Linked DNA regions of Homo sapiens: regions 1, 2 and 4 are each linked to region 3. Evidence: promoter capture Hi-C in 16 types of primary human blood cells and fetal thymus (Javierre and others, 2016). All regions are on one chromosome and are shown on one strand. The core of a region is centred on a gene start or on the middle of the fragment in contact, and the rest is flanking DNA. Distances in the headings are between cores, read along the strand shown. Region 1 holds the start of LOC105369341 (a long non-coding RNA gene). Region 2 has its middle 9.9 kb from the start of LINC02724. Region 3 holds the start of RASGRP2 (RAS guanyl releasing protein 2). Region 4 holds the start of RPS6KA4 (ribosomal protein S6 kinase A4).

The links. The method cuts DNA at HindIII sites, captures the fragments that hold promoters and counts their contacts. A CHiCAGO score of 5 or more calls a contact.
Region 1: a fragment that was not itself captured here is called in contact with the fragment with the promoter of RASGRP2 in region 3 in 4 of 17 cell types (M2 macrophages, M1 macrophages, endothelial precursors and 1 more); the score reaches 9.7 in M2 macrophages.
Region 2: a fragment that was not itself captured here is called in contact with the fragment with the promoter of RASGRP2 in region 3 in 2 of 17 cell types (M0 macrophages and endothelial precursors); the score reaches 6.5 in M0 macrophages.
Region 4: a contact is called between the fragment with the promoter of RPS6KA4 here and the fragment with the promoter of RASGRP2 in region 3, in 1 of 17 cell types (M0 macrophages). The highest score is 6.9, in M0 macrophages.

The regions. Positions count from the first base shown.
Region 1 is chr11:64,418,378-64,423,334 of GRCh38, reverse strand. LOC105369341 (a long non-coding RNA gene) reads left to right here and starts at 3,120. Exons shown (of 4, transcript XR_001748069.2): 1 at 3,120-3,198. LOC124902689 (a long non-coding RNA gene) reads right to left here. Exons shown (of 2, transcript XR_007062720.1): 1 at 2,713-4,957; 2 at 2,265-2,603. The HindIII fragment of the contact is 311 bases long and covers 3,084-3,394 here.
Region 2 is chr11:64,456,707-64,461,288 of GRCh38, reverse strand. No RefSeq gene overlaps it. Among named protein-coding and RNA genes, the nearest start is that of LINC02724, 9.9 kb to the right of the region's middle. The HindIII fragment of the contact is 1,577 bases long and covers 2,288-3,864 here.
Region 3 is chr11:64,741,301-64,746,148 of GRCh38, reverse strand. It overlaps RASGRP2 (RAS guanyl releasing protein 2), which reads left to right and starts at 2,007. Exons shown (of 17, transcript NM_001098671.2): 1 at 2,007-2,146; 2 at 3,212-3,355; 3 at 4,037-4,139; 4 at 4,648-4,710. The coding sequence starts at 3,283. RefSeq lists silencers at 891-1,090, 1,341-1,450, 2,441-2,490, 2,651-2,700, 3,011-3,340 and 1 more. The HindIII fragment of the contact is 16,622 bases long and covers 1-4,848 here.
Region 4 is chr11:64,357,877-64,362,900 of GRCh38, reverse strand. It overlaps RPS6KA4 (ribosomal protein S6 kinase A4), which reads right to left and starts at 3,739. Exons shown (of 17, transcript NM_003942.3): 1 at 3,611-3,739; 2 at 3,452-3,523; 3 at 2,520-2,738; 4 at 2,309-2,424; 5 at 1,660-1,767; 6 at 1,352-1,432; 7 at 1,156-1,259; 8 at 899-1,049. The coding sequence starts at 3,665. RefSeq lists enhancers at 2,344-2,453, 3,187-3,714 and a silencer at 3,464-3,953. The HindIII fragment of the contact is 11,991 bases long and covers 1-5,024 here.

The DNA of each region.
Region 1 (4,957 bases), core at 1,990-4,489, 320 kb after region 3:
CACGGCTCATTGCAGCCTTGACCTTCCAGGTTCAAGCAACCCTTCTGCCTCATTTTTTAATTTGGGGAGTTGAGGTCTCACTATGTTGCCCAAGCTGGTCTCAAACTCCTGGGCTCAGGTGATCCTCCTGCCTCGGCCTCCAAATGTGCTGGGATTACAAGCGTGAATCACTGCGCTCGGCCAGGAACTTCAACTGTTAATTGAAGCCAAGTGGCCTTAGAGGGTGTTGCAGATGAAGACTTCAAGGAAAATGGAGAAAGTATTATTGGAAACTGGAGGAGAGAAAATTATTGTTATAGTGTCTGAAAGTTTAGCAGCACTGTTATCTGTAGTAATGTGGAAAGTAGAAAATGTACTTAATGGGCTAGGTGATCTTGTTAGGGAGATTTCCAGGCAGAGTATTGGAAGTGCCACTTCACTTCTTCTTGCCTGTTTTAGTAAAATGAGATAGGAGAGAAATAAGCTAAAGGAAGAACTGTTCAACATGAAGGTGCCAGGACTTTCTGGTTCTGAAAATTCCCATTTTCTACAGATGGCAAACAATGCTAAATTTAAGAAATAGTTTCTGGGAAAAGATCAAATCCAGGACAATATCAGGAAAACATAGTCTAATGATGAAGCTAGAGGAGTGATTATAAGCTCTTGTATTATATCTTCAGAAAATGTAAAGGGTGCTTCAGAGAATCATTCATAATAAGGTTCCTAAGAAGTTTAAAGATATTCCTCAGCAGTGTCAGCAGAATGCCAAGGTAGAGACAGGCTTATCTCAAAGAGACTTGTTAAATAGAGCAAACCTCAAAAAGATTCATAGGGGACCCAAAAGGGCTTTACAAGAATTGTATTGGCAGAAGCACTGCTAGTTTGGACTGAAAGAAACAGACACAATACAAAATAAAAAGAAGACTTTGGACTTCTTTTCTATAGGTAAGAAGAAAGCTAAGAAAACCAATCATCTGCTAAGATAAGCCACCTTTCATGAAAAAGAAAAGGTGACTCAGCCCCCAGACAAAGCCAACAGTCCCTAGGGCAGAGCCAAGAGCCAAGGAGAATTATTTCCAGCCCTGAAGTCCTAGTGTAGTAACTTCCAATGTGTGGTCTGCTAGATTTAAGAATTGCTATGTGCTAGTGACTCCTGTGTGCCTCCTTTTATTTTTTTTCTAAACAGGGCCTCACTATGTTGCCCAGGCTGGCCTTGAACTCCTGGACTTAAGTGGTCCTCCTGCCTCTGCCTCTCGAGTAGCTGGGTCTACAGGCACACACCACCACAAACAGCTCTATGTGCCTCTCTTCTCGAATTGGGAATGTCTATAATGGTTATCTTATGCTTCTCACACTGTTGTATGTTGCAGGGTACAGAGATACAGAGATACAGATAACTGCCTCTTTAGTTCACATGTCTTCAGATCAAGCAAAACTATTCTCAAGAGCTGTACTTGAGGAGCCTTACCCTAGAAGCCTCATCTGAACCTGATTTAGATGATGAGATTCTGGACTTTGAGCTTTAATAAGATGAGAATTTTGGAGGCTGTGGGAGGAGGTAAGAGTATTTACATGTGGAAAGGATATAATTTATTGGGGGCCAGAGGGTGAGCTATGATAGACTGCCTCCTACATGGCCCCATATGATATCCCCTCCTGCTATTTACACCTTTATTTAGTCCCTTCCCACATCGAATAGGGAAGACCTGTGTAGCCAGTAGGATATTGTAGAAATGATAGTGTGTGCCTTCTGAAGCTTTAAAGACATTGTGGCTTCTGTCTTGTTCTTTCCAGGATTACTTGCTCTGGAGGAATTCAGCCACCATATTGTGAGGACACTCAAGCAGCCCTGTGGATAAGCCACATGGTGAGGAAGTGAGGCCTCCTGCTAACAGCCAGTCCCAATTCCCCGTCTATGTCAGTGACTCATCCTGGAATCAGAGCCTTTTGGCAGTGGAGCCTATAAATGGCTGCAGCTCTGATCAATAACTTGGCTACAATCTCATGAGAAACCTCAAATCTGAGCCATCCTGCTAAGTAAACCATTCCAGAATTACTGCCCCACAGACACTATGTGAGATAATAAATGTTTATTGTTGCTTTAAGCCACTAAGTTTTTTAATAAACTTTTTTAATAGAGATGAGGTCTTGCTCCATTGCCCAGGCTCATCTCAAACTCCTGAGCTCAAGCCATCCTCCCACCTCAGTCTCCCAAAGTGCTGGGATTACAGGTGAGAGCCACCACACCCAGACTGTTTTTTAATAATTTGTTATGCAGCAATAGATAGGTAATACAAATGGTCATCCATTCTTTATTTAAATCCTTCCAGGATCAGAGAATTCATCTATTCATTCATTCAACAAACAGTTTAATAACTGTTGGTATCTACTCTGTGCTGGCCAAATAGTTACCACCCCTCCCTGTGGGAGCATGGTATCTCCCTAAGCCCATCAAGTCTGAAGACATATTTGATCATGTGATTCTCTGTGGCCAATAAAATGTGAACAGAGGGATATAAGCCACTTCTGAGCAGAGGCTTTAAAGTCATTTCTCAGTTCTGCCATCACTCTTTTTCCTGTGCCTCAAAACCAGCAGTTTCATAGCTGATCTTTCAGCCTGAATCCTAGAATGAAAAAAACATAGAACAGGCTCACACCTACTGCAGGCAATGTGCAACATTAATAAGAACAACCCTTTTTATTATAATTATTATAAGCCACTGAGTTTGGTACCTGTTTGTTACTTGGCATAACCCAGCAAAAGCTGACTGATACAGTCACACTGCATCCAGACCTGGTGGGATGACTTTTTTATCTGAGTCTTCTTTATCCTGGCTTTCCTCCTCAGAATGCTTCCTGGTTCCTAATTGTTTCTCAAAAATGTGCCTCCCAGGAGTCAACATGATGGAGTCTGATCAGCCCAGGGCATGTTGGCCTTCCTTTCCAAGACCTGGCTGTCAAACACTCACAACATGGCTCCTTGAGACTTGGGAAACTTTGTTGCCTGGCAGCCTCACAGCCTGGAACACAGAGCTTCCCACATACAGCTAGAGAAGAATGCCTCCAGGGACCAAAATGACGTCATGAGTCCACATTCTAAAGCTTGAGAACTTGTCCCTGAGGACAGATTTCTAACCTCCTTAGAACCTAATTAGGCTTCCCAACCTGCAATCTAACGAGCTTGGTGATGTGGCTGCCAAGTTTACAGCAGATTCAAAGGTATGAATTAAAGATAAATCAAAATGCCAGGCAACCCAGCAGAATCGACGAAACAAACAAGAGTTGGCTGAGCGCCAAATGGTGTCAGGCACGACCCATCTCACAACCATCTGTAAAATAGGTATTAATGTGCCCATTTTACAGGAAAGGAAACTGAGGCTCAGATAGGTCACTAATTTGACAAAGGTCACAAGCTTGTCAATAAGGATTCAAATGGGCATATGGTAGAGACGATATGAATGGCAGCTCCTGGTGCTGATTTTGGCATTGGTGCTGGTTGAAGGGAAGGCAGAGCCAGCGGGGAGGAAGAAAACCATGAGATGGGAGGGTAGGGGGAGATTTTCAGTGGAACAAGGACCCAAGTGGAGAAGGGATGAGCCCCGGGGTATGGAAGAGTGGGGTACAGGGGAGGAGGGAGCACCTGGGAGCCCAGGGAACCCTGGAAAACCATCCCCACCTCAGAGAGGGCCTTCCTTAGGGCAGGCCATCCCTCGCTGTGCTCCCCAGAAGGCCAAGCCCTAGCCTGGGTGACATGACCTGGCCACTGCACTGCACTGCCTTCCCGGGCTCACACAGCGCCAGGCTCTCACAGGACCATTTGTTGAGCTCTAGGAGTCTGGACCGATTGGCACATATGTATGGACCAGGACAACATCCAGTGCCAGGTTTATTGCTGCCAAGCCAGAATGGAGACTGCTTATGCCCATGGAAATGAACTTGCCAGTGCCGGCCCAGGCACAAGAGCTGGACAACTGCCCCTGGTGGGGGCTGCCCCTTGGAAGAGAGCAGAGGTGCAGCTGGCAGACAGGAGGGCCGAAGAGAGACGGACGGAAGCAGCTAGTGATCCCCTGCTCGGGACCCTGCTTCTGTCCAAGATCGCCTGGGTCCCGTTTCCTCCCGAGGAGGGCACAGAGAGAGCCCCAGGCATTCCTTCACCTGTTCTCTCCAGGGAGGCCCAGAGGCTGCACATTCCCCTCAGGACAGACAAGTGTCCGGCCCAGCACTGCGTGTGGGCACAGACAGGAGGAGGAGTTGGGGCACCAGCATTCTCCATCCAGACACCTGACTAAGACCAGGACCACCTGGCATTTTGGAAACCTTGATGAACACCTTCCCAGGGTTTATCTAAATTATTCTTTTTAACTTTTATTGTGGTGAAATATGTATATCGTAAAATTTATCATTTTAGCCATTCTTAAGTATACAGTCCAGTGACATTAAGTGCATTGTTGTGTGACCATCCCCACCATTCAGCTCCAGAACTTTTTCATCTTCCCAACCAGAACTCCACACTAACCCCCCATTTGCCCCTCCCCCAGCCCCTGGCACCCACCATTCCACTCTCTGACTCTATGCATCTCACTCCAGGTGCCTCCTATAAGTGGAATCCTACAGTATCTGTCCTTTCATAACTGGCTCGTTGCACTTAGCACGAGATCCTGAATGTCTATCCACGCGTAGCATGTGTCAGAATTTCCTTCCTTTTTAAGGCAGAGCAATATTCCACTGTATGGATAGGCCACATTTTGCTTAGCCATTCATCTGTTGATATGGTTTGGCTGTGTCCCCACCCAAATCTCATCGTGAATTGTAGCTCCCATAATTCCCACTTGCGGGAGGGACTCAGTGAGGAAATAGTTGAATCATGGGGGCGGTTTCCTCTGTGCTGTTCTCGTGGTATTGAATAAGTCTCATGAGATCTGATGGTTTTATAAGGGGAAACCCCTTTTGCTTTGTTCTCATTTCTCTCTCTTCCTTG
Region 2 (4,582 bases), core at 1,827-4,326, 290 kb after region 3:
CCCCAGGGCTTCCACTGACCTTGCAAGAACAGTAGCTGGAAGAACCAGGGAGTCATCGTCCCAGGAGTAGGGTCTGGTAGTGCTGGTGGTAATGGGCAGAGGCTGAAGGATAATACCACAGCTTCCTGGCCCCTCCAGAGGGACAGTTGTGGGGTATGTCTTACACCACCTCCCCACCATTCCCAGTGGCACCTGCTCATCAGTGCACCCTTCCTAGGACTTGCCTTCCCCTCTTCCACCCAAATCCTTGTCTCAGGATCAACCCCTGGGGAAACCCACCATAGATAACACTGGGCCAAAACCAAGGTCCATAAAGTTTCCAAAGATGAAAAGCAAAATTGTAAAACATTTATAAGTAGAAAGTACAAGAGAAACCTAATTTTGATCTCTGCACAGGGGAAGGATTTCTTAAATGCGATGTGAAAAGCACATCATAAAAGAAAAGATTGATAAATGTGACTATGTTAGAATGGGGTGTTTCTGTTCAACACAAGACACCATAAACAAAGTGAAAACAACAAACCACCGATTCAGAATAGATATCTGTAGCAAAAGATCGTGACCAGAAAATGTAGGAACATCCTAGGGAGAATGAAAATAAGACGAAAATGGGAAAATGGACAAAGGACAGAAATAGAAAATCCCCAAAATAGAAATACATAAATGACCAAGAAACAAAAAATACAGGTTCTGTCTCCATGATGTTTAAGGAAAAGCAAATTAAAACAATGAGATAATCATGTTTTATCTGCCAGTTGGGCAGAATTTTGAAAGATGGAAAAAGCGTTGGGGGAAGAACATACTCAAACTCTTTTGCTGTCAACAGGAATTGGTGTAACCTTTTGGAAGAACCATTTGACAATATTCAAAAACCTTTGAAGTGCTTATTTACAACCTATGACTCAGCCGTCTCACTTTTAGAAATGTCCCCTACAGAAATAATAGCATGAGTGTATAAAAAAATTAAAGGGTATGCTTTTCTAATTTGTTACTAAATAAAAAAATAAAAAAAGAAACCTAAATGACTCTCTGTAAAGAATTTTAACTTAAATGAAGGTAGGCCGAGCACAGTGGCTCATGCCTGTAATCCCAGCACTTTGGGAGGCTGAGGTGAGCAGATCGCTTGAGCTCAGGAGTTCAAGATCAGCTTGGGCAACACGGTGAAACCCCGTCTCTACAAAATAATACAAAAATTATCTAGGTGTGGTGGCGCTTACCTGTAGTCCCAGCTACTCAAAAGGCTGAGGTGAGAGGATCACCTGACCCAGGGAGGTTGAGGCTGCAGTGAGGTGTAATTGTGCCACTGCACTCCGGCCTGGGCAACAGAACGAAACCCTGTCTCAAAAAAATAAAATAAAATAAAATAAAATAACAAAAAATAAATAAATGAAGGTATACTACTCGGCCATTAAAAGGCAAGTGGTGAAATGTGGTCTACACAGACAGTGGAATATTATTTAGCCCTAAAAAGGGAGGGAATTCTGACATATGCTGCAACATGGTTGAACCTGAAAACATTAGGGCTAAGTGAAAGAAGCCAGTCACAAAAGGGCAAGTACTGTATGACTCCACTTATAGGAGGTACCTGGAGCAGTCAGATTCAGGGAGTCAGAGAATAGAAGAGAGTTTCCCAGGGCTGGGGTCGGGGACGGGCGGTCAGTATTTAACAGGCACAGAGCTTCAATCTGGGAAGATGAAAAAGGGCTGGAGATGGATGGATGCTGAGGATGGTTGCACAGCAATGTGAATGTACTTAATACCACAGAACTATGCATTTATAAATGGTTAACATGGTCAATTTTATGTTATATACATTTTACCACAATTTTTTTTAAAGGCAAGGAATGGATAAACATGTATTAACCTAGAAAGCACTGTGCAGTTGTGCAGTGAACACTTCCTGCGCACCTCGGTGTGGCAGATGAGGTTCTGGGGTGAGGCAGATGCTCTGGCAAGCAAGAAAAATGAGGTCCCTGCGCTCATGGGGCCGACTTCCAGTGGAAGAAAAGTCAGCAAGTGAGGTCATCCCAGAACCATCGTGTTACAGAGAAAATACAGGAAATGGAAAGGGGGTGGGGGTGCGGGGCGGGGCGGGACAGAGAGCCCAGGGGAGCCTCTTTGAGAGGGTGATGTGATCCCATGTCTGAGCACCAGTGGGATTTCCTGAGATTCCCTTCTTACTGCTCAGCTCCCAACACATTCGATCCCGTCTCCCCCTTCTCCATGGGGCTGAGAGAGATGCCTGGATTCTGAGGGGTAAATCCTTCTCAGTTAATAAAGAAAAGCTTTGTTTAAAAAAAAAAATAGGGGTTTAAAAAGAAGTGAATAATTTAGCCAGGATTAGTATTCACAAGAAAGAAAGTAAGCATTATGTTTACTTTCTTTTGGGGGGTTGGGGATGCTGTCTCCAACGCTGCAGAGGATTTTAGGAAGAAAAGTGACACCTCAGCGTGGCCAGTCCTGAGGAAGAACAGGACAGGCAAGGTGCAGGACAGGGTGATATTGCTTTGTCCTCAGTCTGTGGGGCTCCTTTCTCCCACCCCCGCTTGAGATAAATCTCAGGCAGGCACATGGTCCCAGGCAATGTAAGTCATGTCCTCACTTCTAGATCCAAGAACAGCCTTGGCTCAGTAATTATGACACCCAAGACCAGGTGAGAATCCAACTCTCCATCTCACTAAAGGCTGAGGCTCAGCCCACCGCAAGAAAGAAGCTGGCAGTGGCTGCCGGGGACGAAGGGGGAGGTCCTTTTTTTTCTTATATCTATTTCTTTAAATTGGGGTGAAATTCGTGTTACATAAAATTAACCATTTTAAAGTGTACTGTTTCTGTGCCATTTAGTACCCTCACGATGTTTTAAAGCCACCACCTCTATCAAGTTCCAAAACATTTTCCTTGCCTGAAAGAAAACCTCATACCTATTCAGCATCACTCCCTATTCCCCACTGGCTCCGCCCAGGCTCCATCAATGGGCTCTGTCTCTGGATCTTCCTGTTCTGGTCATTGACCAGGGACCGCTCTGCAGGAGAAGCTCTCAGGAAGTGAGGGAAGCAGATGAGGGAGGGGTGCAGGCCAGGCAGGCACGTGCCCTCAAGTTGAGTCTCAGGTTCTGATCCGAGGAGGCTCTAAAGAGTAAACCCCACTGCAGGGCTGTCCCAGCTTGAAGCAATGGAGCTGGTCTTTTGTCCCCTTGATTCCTCAGCCACTGGCTGTGGCCTGTCACTGCAGTGAGAAGGGGACTTTACACCGCAGGAAGAGCAGCTCCATTGGCTGAGGTCAAGTGTGGAGAAGACGGGAAACTCCCTGCCACTAGCAGTCCCTCTTGCAGCTGCTGATGGACGGACATGTGCCCTGGCCAGGTGAAGGGGTCTGGGCCAGGCACCAGACTGTCCACTACAGCCCACCCTTTGCACCATTCAGACCTGTTTGCTTCTCGCATAGAGTCCACTCTGTGCAGGCCCAGCTTCTCCAGGACGGTCAGAAACCCTCCCTGGGGAAACCGCCACAAGGCAGGCTCTTGCGAAGGACTAGGGACCCCATTGCTGCCACTGACCCCAAGGCCTTAACTGATCCATGCCATCGGCCCCCTTGACTCCTCCCTTACTCTCTGCTGGGCTGGGGCCTTGCCTGGTGGGGCGACCCAGACTCTCATCCCTGAGGGGTCTGAGGCCCTGGTTGCCATGGCCTGATCACGCCATGGTTGCTGTATGTGCCAATTTACATATAGGCCCCATCCTATAGCTGCATTCCTCCCTCTGCTGATCGGGATCCCTGGCCCGTGCTGTGTAGAACGTTCATTCCATACCTGCTGGGCCACTAGCACAGAAGCCCAAAGGCACCAGGCAGCAACCAGAGCTTCAAGCTTGGTGGGACCCTCACCATATCCCCTATGGAAGCCATGTTCCCTCAGGGACCAGGACTTCTTGATGGACAAAGCCTAATGGCGTGGGGATAGGAGGCACAGATTCCTCAATGTGGGTCACAGGGGAAATGGCGAATAGGGCCACTCCTAACCCTTATGCTGCCTGGAGTGAACACAGTGCCTTATAATTGCTTAGTTTAAGGAGCAATCACACCCTGAGGGATAGTGACCTGGTATCACCTCAAAGCTGTGATCCCAGAGGCCATTCTGCGGCTGCCCAGGCTGGCATTCCAGAAGACGTGATCTGCAGTAGGGCTGGCGGATCCCACGGTCACGTGCCCACTGCCGCACCTGCTTCCCCACAGAGTGAATCCCCTGGCCTTAGGTGATGTCATTCAGAATCCTGTGTAGGAGAATCAGCCACTTAGAGAGCGAGCCCTCAGAGAGTGATGTTGGCAGAGACCCCAAAAGTAGGAACTGCAAGCCCATTCCTGGAATCGGGCTGATGGAACTGAGTGAATCTCTGCCCTTTCCAGGGTGGAAGGGGTCCTGTGAAATCAGTTTGCTACTAAGTGGCTGGCCAGTCATTTCAAGGGAATGGGACAGTACTGGGAGCTCAGCGTTGGTCTCAGTTGCTGACGGATCAGACACGCAGAGGTGGCAGTAACCGTGTCAGCCTCGATAAGTAGAGGCACGTGCTCTTGGGCCCAGGAGTAGCCG
Region 3 (4,848 bases), core at 758-3,257:
GGCGGGGCGTCTGCCTGGGTGGGGCCCACCGGGGCTGGGAGCCGGGACTTGGGCTGAGGCTTCCCGGACCACGGAGGATCCGCGCTGTCGAGGGCAGGACCCAGGAGGGGGAGGAAGCAGAGGATGCTCGGCGCCTTCTTGGCTCCGCCCTTAGCCCCGCCCTACTGCGGCGTTTAAGGGTCTCTTAGCAGGTGGCTACACTGGATCCAAAGTCGGGGGAGTGTTACGGCAGGGAACACTCGCAGACCGCCTAGTCTAGGCCCTCATTATGGGGAAACTGAGGAACAGAAAGGTCCTGTTTCTAAGTCTTACATTACCAAGACTGAGGTGCGGGGGCGGTCCTGGATCCCCCGCCCCAAGGCTGGGAGGGGCACGCCTCGGAAGGGAGGTTTGGGGTCGGTGGTTTCACAGTGAGTGTGTCTGAAGCCAAATGGTCGGAAACCGTTACCCGCTCTCCTAGGCCCGGCTAGTGGGGACCCCAACCGCCTGCGGCTGCCCCTCCCAAGTTCCTCCCTGTTGGCCAGGCATCCAGGTCTCCAGTCTCCGAGCTGCGGAGAACCCACCGCCACATGCGGCTGCCCCTTTCCATTCGACCCTGTGGGGAGCCAGGCTTCCGGGGCCCCGTTCCTCCTGTGTGAACTGGGCCCCCCGCCCCCATTCCCAGACATCAAGGCCGCGTCTCCAGATAGCCACGATTTCATTCCTCGCTCCCCACAGGTCCCTCTCCCCAAAATATTCCCATCTTGTCCTAGCCCATCCCCCAGACTATCTCAAGGACCAGCTGTCCCCACGCCCCCGACCTCCACTAGGCCTGTGCCACCCGCTGCCTGCAGGAAGACGCCCGGTCCCGGGCCGGGTTAGCCCCATGGGAACGGTTTGTCTCGAAAACAGGAACCCGAGCTGGGGGCTGGGCGGGGCGCCCCTTCCCCACCGCAGTCCGCTTCCTGCCCCTCCCGGCTTCCTCCGCCCGACACCCAGGCAGGGCGGGGGGCACTGGGGCGTCCGCGGTTGGGGGAGGGGCTCTTCGTTTCGGTCCCCCCTCCGCGTCCCGGGCGGCGGGGCCTCCGGTCGCCCGCCCTCGGGGCAGCTAGTGGCGCAGCCCCCCGCCCGCGGCCCTGGCCTCCCGGGCGGCGCGGCAGGGGAGGGGTTAAGCTGCCGCAGGGACCGCCGCGTGCGGGGCGAGAGGGAGCCCCCGGTGGGGGTGGCGCAGCCGGCGGTGCGGAGCTCCGCGCAGGGGCGGAGGGGGGAGGGGGCAGCCTGGCGCGGGGGCGGGGGCGGGGCGGCGGGGAGCGGGGCCGCGGCGTGGAGAGCGGGCGGGAGCCGCAGCCGCAGCGAGGCCGGCGGGCGGGAGCGCACGGAGGTGGGGTCGGCCAGGCCGGTGCGGGCTCCTTGCGGCAGGTCCCAAGAGTGAGTGGGCGAGCGCGGGCGGGGCGCCAGGCGAAGGAGGGCGCGGCCCCCAGCGACTCCCCCCCCGCCCAGGGCGGCGCGGGCGGGCTGGGGGCGGCGAGCGGGTGGGGAGTCTGCGGCCCGGGTCTGGGAGAGGGGGCAGCGGCCACGAGAGCTAAGGCGCGCTGGATCCCCGGAGGGCGGAGGACCTCCACGGTGCACCCAGCTTTTCCCAGCCACCTTCCAGCGGGGCCCTCCCCCGCGTACCCCCATTTGGCAGATGAGAAAATTGAGGCTCCCAGAGGCCAAGTGATTCTCAAGGTCACACGAGGAAGCGGTAGAGCCAGGCGGGGACGGCTCTGGGTGGCTCTTAGGAAAAGTCCGCCTGAGAACTCCGTACAGGAGCTCCCCTGTCCTCCAGCCTGGGGGAGTGAGTATGTGTAGGGCCGGGGTACCTTTCCGTGGGGCAAGGCTCTGCCAAAATCTGGGAGTGAGGGGAGTCAGGGAGCTGGGGCCGCAGGGCGGGCCCTGCACCGCAAATGGGAGGGGGGCGACGGAATGGGCGTGCGCACCCATGGGGGTGTGTGCATGTGTGTGGGAGTGTACATGCGTGGAGAGGCACTGCCTTGCGTGTGTGCACACGTGTGAGGATGTCAGCGCCTGTGTGGCCGCGGGACTCAAGGCTGGCCTGGCTCAAGTGAACAGCACGTCCAGGAGGCGACCTCGTCCGCGGGTTTGCATTCTGGGGTGGACGAGCTGGGTATGTGTGCCTGAGGGTTTCTTCGTGCAGGTGTGCACAGGGTGTGGGTGCCATTGTGTGTGAGAGACGGAGGATGGGAGGCCGGTGCCTGTGGCCCGGTGCGTGTAAGTGCGGACGCCTGCACCTCCACTTAGGTCCCCGGCCTCCGACGAATAACTTGGGTGTGGAGTGTTTGCCCCTGCCAGGGTGCGTATGACCCCGCCAGTGACCGGAGTTGCTAATGGTGTCATGCACCCACCGGCCACCCTTGGCGCGAGCGCCCCCCTCTGGACACCCTGCTCCGTGCGCGCTCACAGTTCGCCTGTGCGGGGCCGGGGCCAGGGTCAGGAGCCGGGGATAGGGAGGAAGAGGGCCTGTGGACAAGCTGAGCCGGGACCCCTGGGACCTTTGCGGAGGTGGCCTGGGAGCGCTCAGTTCCCAGGCTCAGGCTTCCCGCTGACGCCTCCTGGCCGCAGCGGGCTCCCCCCGCCCCAGGAATGTTCCTCTCCCATCCAGTCCGCCTCCCCTAGGGCAGGCCCCCTGGGGGCTGCCGCAGCCCCGCCTCGCCTTCCTGGGCTCCCGGGAGGGGGCGAGGCGGGCAGGACGCCTGGGTTCTCTCCCCCCACCTCCCATACCAGGGAGAAATTCCTCCGAGGTCCCCTCAGGCTCTGGGTTCCCAAAATAACCCTGCGGGGGAAGGGAGGCTGTGGAGGGAGGGAAGCGGGAGGGGCGCAGAGCCGAGCTGCGGGGTGCTGCAGGTGCCTCTGGGGAGAGGGCGCGAGGAGAAGGCGCCCTGCGGGGGGCTGGGCGCCAGCCAGTCCTGGGATCTTGGTTCGTCCCCATCCTCGTGAAGCCCCTCGGCCTTCCCGCGACTCCGAGGGTGGGCCGGAAGCCTCTCTGCGGGTCCGTTTCCCAACTGGCGGGTTGCACCATCCCGGGCCAGACCGTTTAACCCCGGGAGTGGCCGCGGGGGACAACTCCGCCCCTGTCCAGCAGGGGGCGTGCCCGCCCCGCCCCGTTTCTGCCCGCGGGGCCGCTCCCCCGCCCGCGACTCCGCAGACTCCCGCTCTGCCTCTCCCGGGACAGGGGTTCGGTCCGAGCCCGGTGGGAGGCTCCCGGAGCGCAGCCTGGGCCCAGCCCACCCCGCGCCGGCGGCCATGGCAGGCACCCTGGACCTGGACAAGGGCTGCACGGTGGAGGAGCTGCTCCGCGGGTGCATCGAAGCCTTCGGTGAGTGGCTCGGGAGGGCACACGGAGCCTGAGCCTAGCCCCGAGTCTGAGCCCGGGTCCCTGCCTCCCAGGCACAGTCCAGGGCACAGCCCTGACCCGGACCCACCCTGCTCCGCAGCGTGCAGTCTCTTTAACGAAAGCCTCCTCCGCAACGCAGGGCAGAGAGATGCACGCCCTTCAGACAGATGAGGTTTCCCTTCTCTAGCCTTCCCCAGCGGCGGCGAAGGGAGGGCCGGGTCCCGGACTCTGACACTTGAGGGGCATTATCTGTCTCCCGGGGAATCCGGAGGAACTCGCTATCTCCGGCCTGGGAGCTGTTTCCGGCTAATGGGGGGCGGCTTATCTGGTGAAGGGGTGCCCCTTCCCCCCAAGCGCTCAGGAAATGACCTCTGGATTCTTGACCCCGGGGAACCCAGGCTCCTTCCGCCCCAGCTGGTTCCCCTCCGGACGATGGGCGGCTCGGGCGCTCCCCTCCTCCAGTCCTCAGGGCGTGCCTATCTCTCGCCCACCACACCTTTCCTCTCTAATTTGCCTCCTGCTCTCGGAGTCCTGGGCAAGCAGGAGGTGGGCGGGGTCGAGCGTGCACCCGAAGGACCGATACCTGGCGGGTTGCGGGGTGAGGATGAGGCATGGTAGCTGCGGACCCAGCTCAGCCACCTGTCTTTGACCCTTCGGAGTCAGATGACTCCGGGAAGGTGCGGGACCCGCAGCTGGTGCGCATGTTCCTCATGATGCACCCCTGGTACATCCCCTCCTCTCAGCTGGCGGCCAAGCTGCTCCACATATATCCTTCGCCGGCCTTGCCAAGGCCCCCGCCGTCGGAGCCCATGCGCAGCCCCTCTGCCCAGCCCAGGTGCAGAATGAGCCTCGCTCCTAAGTATAGGCCACTCCTTATCCCAGAGCTCAGGCGTCGTCCCAGCCTCCAACTAGGGCCTAGGCTCTGCCCCCTCCTTGCTCCTAGCGACTCGGTCCTGTCCCCAGGCTCTGTCCCCAGCCGAGGCCTTGCCCTCCTTCTCCCTAGAGTCTGGGGCCTGCCCCTGCTTCAGGCTTGGGTGCGCCCCGTGCATCTCTCTCTCCCAGAGCCCAGGCTTTGCTTTCAGCCTCCCTCAGCACCTAGTCCTCCACCCCCACCTCCAACCCCTCCCAGAGCTCAAGCCTCACCCCCAGCATCTCCGCAGAGCGCAAGCCCCATCCCTAGAACGTGTCTCCTAGAACCAGGCCCCGCCCCCAGCCTCCCTCCACGCAGGCCTCCCTTTCTAGAGTTAAGCGGCCTCCTTAACCCTCTCCTTCACCTACCAACAATCCCGGAAGGACAACTCCAATTCCCTGCAGGTGAAAACGTGCCACCTGGTCAGGTGAGTCTTTCCCCTGGGGCTCTAGCCCCTCCCCTTTCTCCCTTCTCTCTGGCTTCAGGCTGGCCTGGAGGAGGGGGCAGGGCGCTGTTTCTGGGAGTGGGTTTGAACCCTGGCTTGTCCGGGTGGGCAGTGCTGCCA
Region 4 (5,024 bases), core at 2,490-4,989, 380 kb after region 3:
TCAGGAGTTCAAGACCAGCCCGGCCAACATGGTGAAACCCCGTTTCTACTAAAAATATAAAAATTAGCCAGTCGTGGTGGCCTGTGCCTGTAATCCCAGCTACTTGGGAGGCTGAGGCAGGAAAATCGCTTGAACCCCTGAGGTGGAGGTTGCACTGAGCCGAGATCGTGCCACTGCACTCCAGCCCAGAAGACAAAGTGAAACTCCGTCTAAAAAATAAGAATCAGGTAGTTGTGAGGGTGAAATGAGTTCATGTCCGCAAAGGGCCGACACACAGTAGGTATTGACTGTTACAAAGTCCTGCTGGGCGATGACGCTGGCCAGGCCCAGCCCCTGAGTCAGTGCATTCTCGCATGGCCAGATTCACTCTGCACTGCACTCTAACATGTGTGTGCTCCTAACAAGTGAGCAAACACCCATGTGTGCTGATCAACCGTCCATCTGAATGACAGGCACACAGACTGTACAGGGACGGGGACAAAGAACAAAATGCCTGGGTGGGTGCTAAAAGCCATAAGTGTGGGTTTCCGTACTGATTTGGACCAGCAGGAGATCTATCTAGACCCAAGGTCTATTCCCAACTCGGCACCATTTACTGTGCCGTCGGGGGCAGGTCACCTGCCTTCTCTGGGTCTGTCCAGTGAAAGGACCGACCAATCCATTCTCAAATCCCTGACAGCCCCAACAGCCAATGAACCTAGAATCCTTTCTTTCAGGAACACATCTGCCAAGTTTCAGTGGGGATGGATGTGAAGAGAAACCTAGCTGACACACACTTGCTTTCTTTCTCTGGGGGGATTTCCAAATAAAGTGAAACTGGCCAGGCACAACCTCAACCTGGAACAGCAGCCCCACCTGGGTATGCACCAGGAGGTATGGGGCCCTGAGTCAGCCTCACCTGGAAGAAGGGATGGTTCCGGACTTCTTGTGCCCCCTGGGGCCCCGCGCCCAATCGCTTCTTAGGATCCTTACAAAGCAGCCGCTGCAGCAGGTCCTGCGCCACGGGCCCGATCCGAGGGGGGAAGGGAGGGGAGCACTTCAGGATCCGTCTGGGAGGATTGGGGGGGTGTCAGGGGCAGCAAGCCCCCCACCCACAGCCCTGCCCAGGCAGGCCCTGCAGCCCTCTGGCCGCCCTCCACGTCCAGCCCTACTCACCGAGACACCTCAGCCTGCGTGTTCCTCTCGCCCTCCAGGGTGAAGGGCGAGGCCCCCGTCAGCAGCTCGAAGAGCAAGATGCCCAGGCTCCACCAGTCCACAGCCTGCCGGGTGGAGCCGGGGTGAGGGCCTGCATCTCCCCTGCCTCACACCCCACCTTTCCACCTCCCCCAGCCCCACTTCCCTGCCAACCTACCTTGCCATGCCCCGTCTTGCTACGGATGATTTCGGGGGCCATGTACTCGATGGTGCCACAGAAGGAGAAGGTCCGCTCTTTCTGGGAGGGCAAGAGGTCCTGCTTAGATGTCGAAACCTCTCCTGTGCCCCAGTGCCCCACAAGGCCCAGAGTAAGACTCGCTCAACTTGTGAGGTTGGAGAGCTGAGCTGTGGAAACTTCTTGGAGCTATTCACTTCTGCAGCCCCAGAATGCAGGCCCAGAGCAGGAAGAGGCAGGAAGGAGAAGGATTGAATGGGGCACTGCAGGCAGAGGTGGCCTCCACTCACCTCCTCCGTCAGGAACTCCTTGCTCAGCCCGAAGTCCGTGAGGACAATGTGGCCCTCGGAGTCCAGCAGCACATTCTCCAGTTTCAGGTCTCGGTAAATGATGCCGAGCTGGTAGGAGCAAGAGGGGTGCTGAGGCTTCCTCCCCGAAACCCTCCCCAGCTCCTCCAGCTCCTGGCCCTGCTCAGGATAAGGAGACCCCCCAGAGAAAGTCATCTGCCTGTAGAGGGGGTCTCCAGGGCAGAGCCACTGAATAAGAAAGGCCATTTAAGATATAAAACAAAGAAGGAGGGCCCCGTGGATCAGGCCCCAAGGTCCCAGAGAGAGGAAAGTCTGTGTGAAGAGCTCCATTTCAAGGAGGCCTTAGGAGCCAGGCCGTGAGGTTTCCATTTGAGGAAGTTCTGTGAACGCAGCCCCGAGTTCCCTGAAAGAGGAAAGCCCCTTCGAGGAGGTGCCAGGGGAGGGGACCCCACCAGGCAACGTTGAGGCTTCCTGCAAGGGGTCCAGGGGAAGCAGCTCCAATTCCCACCCAGCTCACCACTGGCCCCCCAGGAAGCCCAGGGGGAAGCCTGAGGCTGCCCTGCGTGCAGATTCCTTCCAAGGCACAGACCCAGTTTCCATAGCAACAGCCTGCGGCCAGGTCTTCACCCACCTTGTGCAGGTGTTCCAGGGCCAGCACGATCTCACCCCCATACACGCGCACCTCAGCCTCCTTGAAGTACTGGCGCTGGTAGAGGTGGGTGAACATCTCCCCGCCGCTCACATAGTCTGGGAGGTGCAGTGGAAGTCAGGAAGCAGCCCCGTCAGGTGGCCTCGCCTGCCCCCAGCCACCCCAACCCCGTTGGGATGTGGTGTGCGCTCACCCAGGATGAGGTGCAGCTTGGCATCCGTCTGGAAAGCGTAGTGCAGCGTGACCAGGAAGGGCGCCTGGCGCACCAGCTCCAGCACCGAGCGCTCGGTGCGCGTGTGCTCTTGCGTCTTGGCGCGCTGCACCAGCGCCGCCTTGCGCAGCACCTTCATGGCGTACAGCTTCCCCGCGTCGTGCCCGCCCGCCTTCCGCACCAGGAACACCTTGCCGTAGGCTGTGGGAGCAGCGAGTGGGTGGAGGGTGGGCTGTGAGCGGGAGATTGGTGCAGGCTTGGGGGGTGGGGGCGATGCCAACCCAGGAGGGTGTGCAAATGAGGCGAAGGAGCTGGGGCAACAGGCAGGTGTGCAAAAAGCTGGCAGAGCCTTCTAAGGAAAGGGTGTGCACACCCCGGGAGGGTGCCCAGCAAAACCAGGGAAAGGATGTGCAAACCAGGCTGGGGAGCATGCATCTCCAGGGGGCCTGCTGCGAGGCATGGGGGCGGGGCATATGCAAACCTGCGAGAGATCAGATGGATGTGAAAAGATGCCAGTGCAAGGAAGGGAGGCAGAGGTGTGCACCTGGCTGGGGAAGGGATGCGCAAACCAGCGCTGGGGCATTTGCAAAATGTGGGAGGGGGATCCCATATTGGAAGAAAGGGAGGAGCTATGCAAATCACTTGAGAGGGGCGCCAGTCCCCCTCCCCAGGGTGTTGGCAAATCCAGGGGGGTATGCACGCACAGGACCGTGGAGGGAGGAGTGATGTCAATGTGGAGTGCCCTGGAAGTGGGCATGCAAACTCTGGCGAGGCAGGGCGGGGCAGGCAAGGCAGGCTGTGCCGGGAAAGGGTGGGGGGCCTGCTCAGTGGCCTGGCCCAGGCCCAAGAGTGAGCAGGCAGGAGGTCAGGGGCACCGCGCCTGGGACGCCTGCCCGGTGGATGGGGGTCCTCACCTCCCGTGCCCAGCACCTTGAGCAGCTCGAAGTTCTCCACGCTCACCTTCTCCTCGTGCCCGGTCAGGTTGGCTGTGGGCACAGGGGGCGAATGAGCCCAGCCGGTCCATGACCCGTCCCGGCCTGCCCCGGGCAGCCGCAGTCAGGCCCCACACCCACCTTCTGTGATCCGCAGCTCCACGGCGCAGCTCTCATCGTCGTCCTCGTCCCCCATGGCGGGCGGGTCGCTGGGGCCCGCGCGGCTCGGGCTCCGGGCGGCGCCGGTTACATGGCGGCTCCGGCCGGGGCGGGCGCTTCCTGGTGCCGCCTCCGGGGCCGAGGCGGGCGCCGGCACCGCCTCCCGGCTCCCCGCCCTGCGCGGCCTGAGTCAGGCGGCTGGAACGTGACAGCGCCGGGCTGCCGGTGGGCGGCCGGCTGGGGCCGCCCTGTCTCCCGAGCCCCCAGGCCAGGCCTCAGGGCCGTGCGCTCCGGGACCTTACTCGACTCTCCCGGGAACTGGAAACACCCCGTGGGAGCCATCCCTGAGCCCGTGGGTAACCTGGAGCCTCTGGGGCATTAGTCCCCAAGCCAGGAATCTGCCCGGGAATGCCGGCTGCAGCCAGTGGCTGGAGGACATTAGGAGTCTGTGCCCCAAGGTGGGGGACGAGGTGCCTGGTGCTGGGCAGGCTGAGAGGGGGTCTGGATCCTGGAAGTCACCCAACTCTCAGGCAGTGGAGCCCACCCCACTCCATCGTCCTGGGGGTGGCCAGCAGGGCCCCTCTCCCCAGAGGACTGGCCTTTGCAAGGAGGAGCCTCATCACCAAGAGGGGGCTGGAGCCCGGCCTGGGACCCCATGGCAAGGAGAGGAGTGGCCAGTTTTCTGACCAGCTTTCTGTCGGGGGTGCCTGCAGAAGCACTTCAGCCCCCAGTCACCGTGCAGAGCCCACCAGGTGCCATGCGCACCTCACGTGTTCTGCTCCTGTTGTCTCCTAGCCTGGTGCAGTACCCAGCTTAGAGCCCTGAGCAGGCCTCAAGAAGAGATGTCAGTGCCACACGGGGCTGCCCCCTCTCCCCATGAGGCCCAGGGCCCCTGCTGACTGGTCCTCCTGAGCCCCTGCTCCGTCTTCTTCCTGCCTTTCCCTTCCTGACCACCAATGGGGCCACCTAGCAGAGTGGGACAGCCATGAGGCCCCACACCCTGAGGCCGGTGGGAGGGGCTCTCAGCTCCTCTGCCAGCTGGAGAGGCCAGGGTGTCCACCCCACGCCCCTGTCCTGTGAAGCCCTGGCTGAGAGGAGGAGGAACTCAAGCTGCTGCAGGTCACACCTGGGAGGCCGGACGGACCGTCCCTCCCAGCTCTGCACCCCCCAAGTTCAGGCTGCCTTATCTCAGCCCTGGGCAGCTCCACCCTCCCCTGGGTGGCCCCAGGTACCCTGACTCACATCCTGCACCCCAGCCGAATTGCCCCGCCTCTCAGGCATCAGGCTAGAGGCCCTGGTCAGAGAGCCAGCGTCCCTCCCACCTCTCCTGGCAACCCCTGGCATTAAGTGATGCCCCGCCAGGCTGAGAACTCCCTGGGGAGGGGGCTCAACCTCA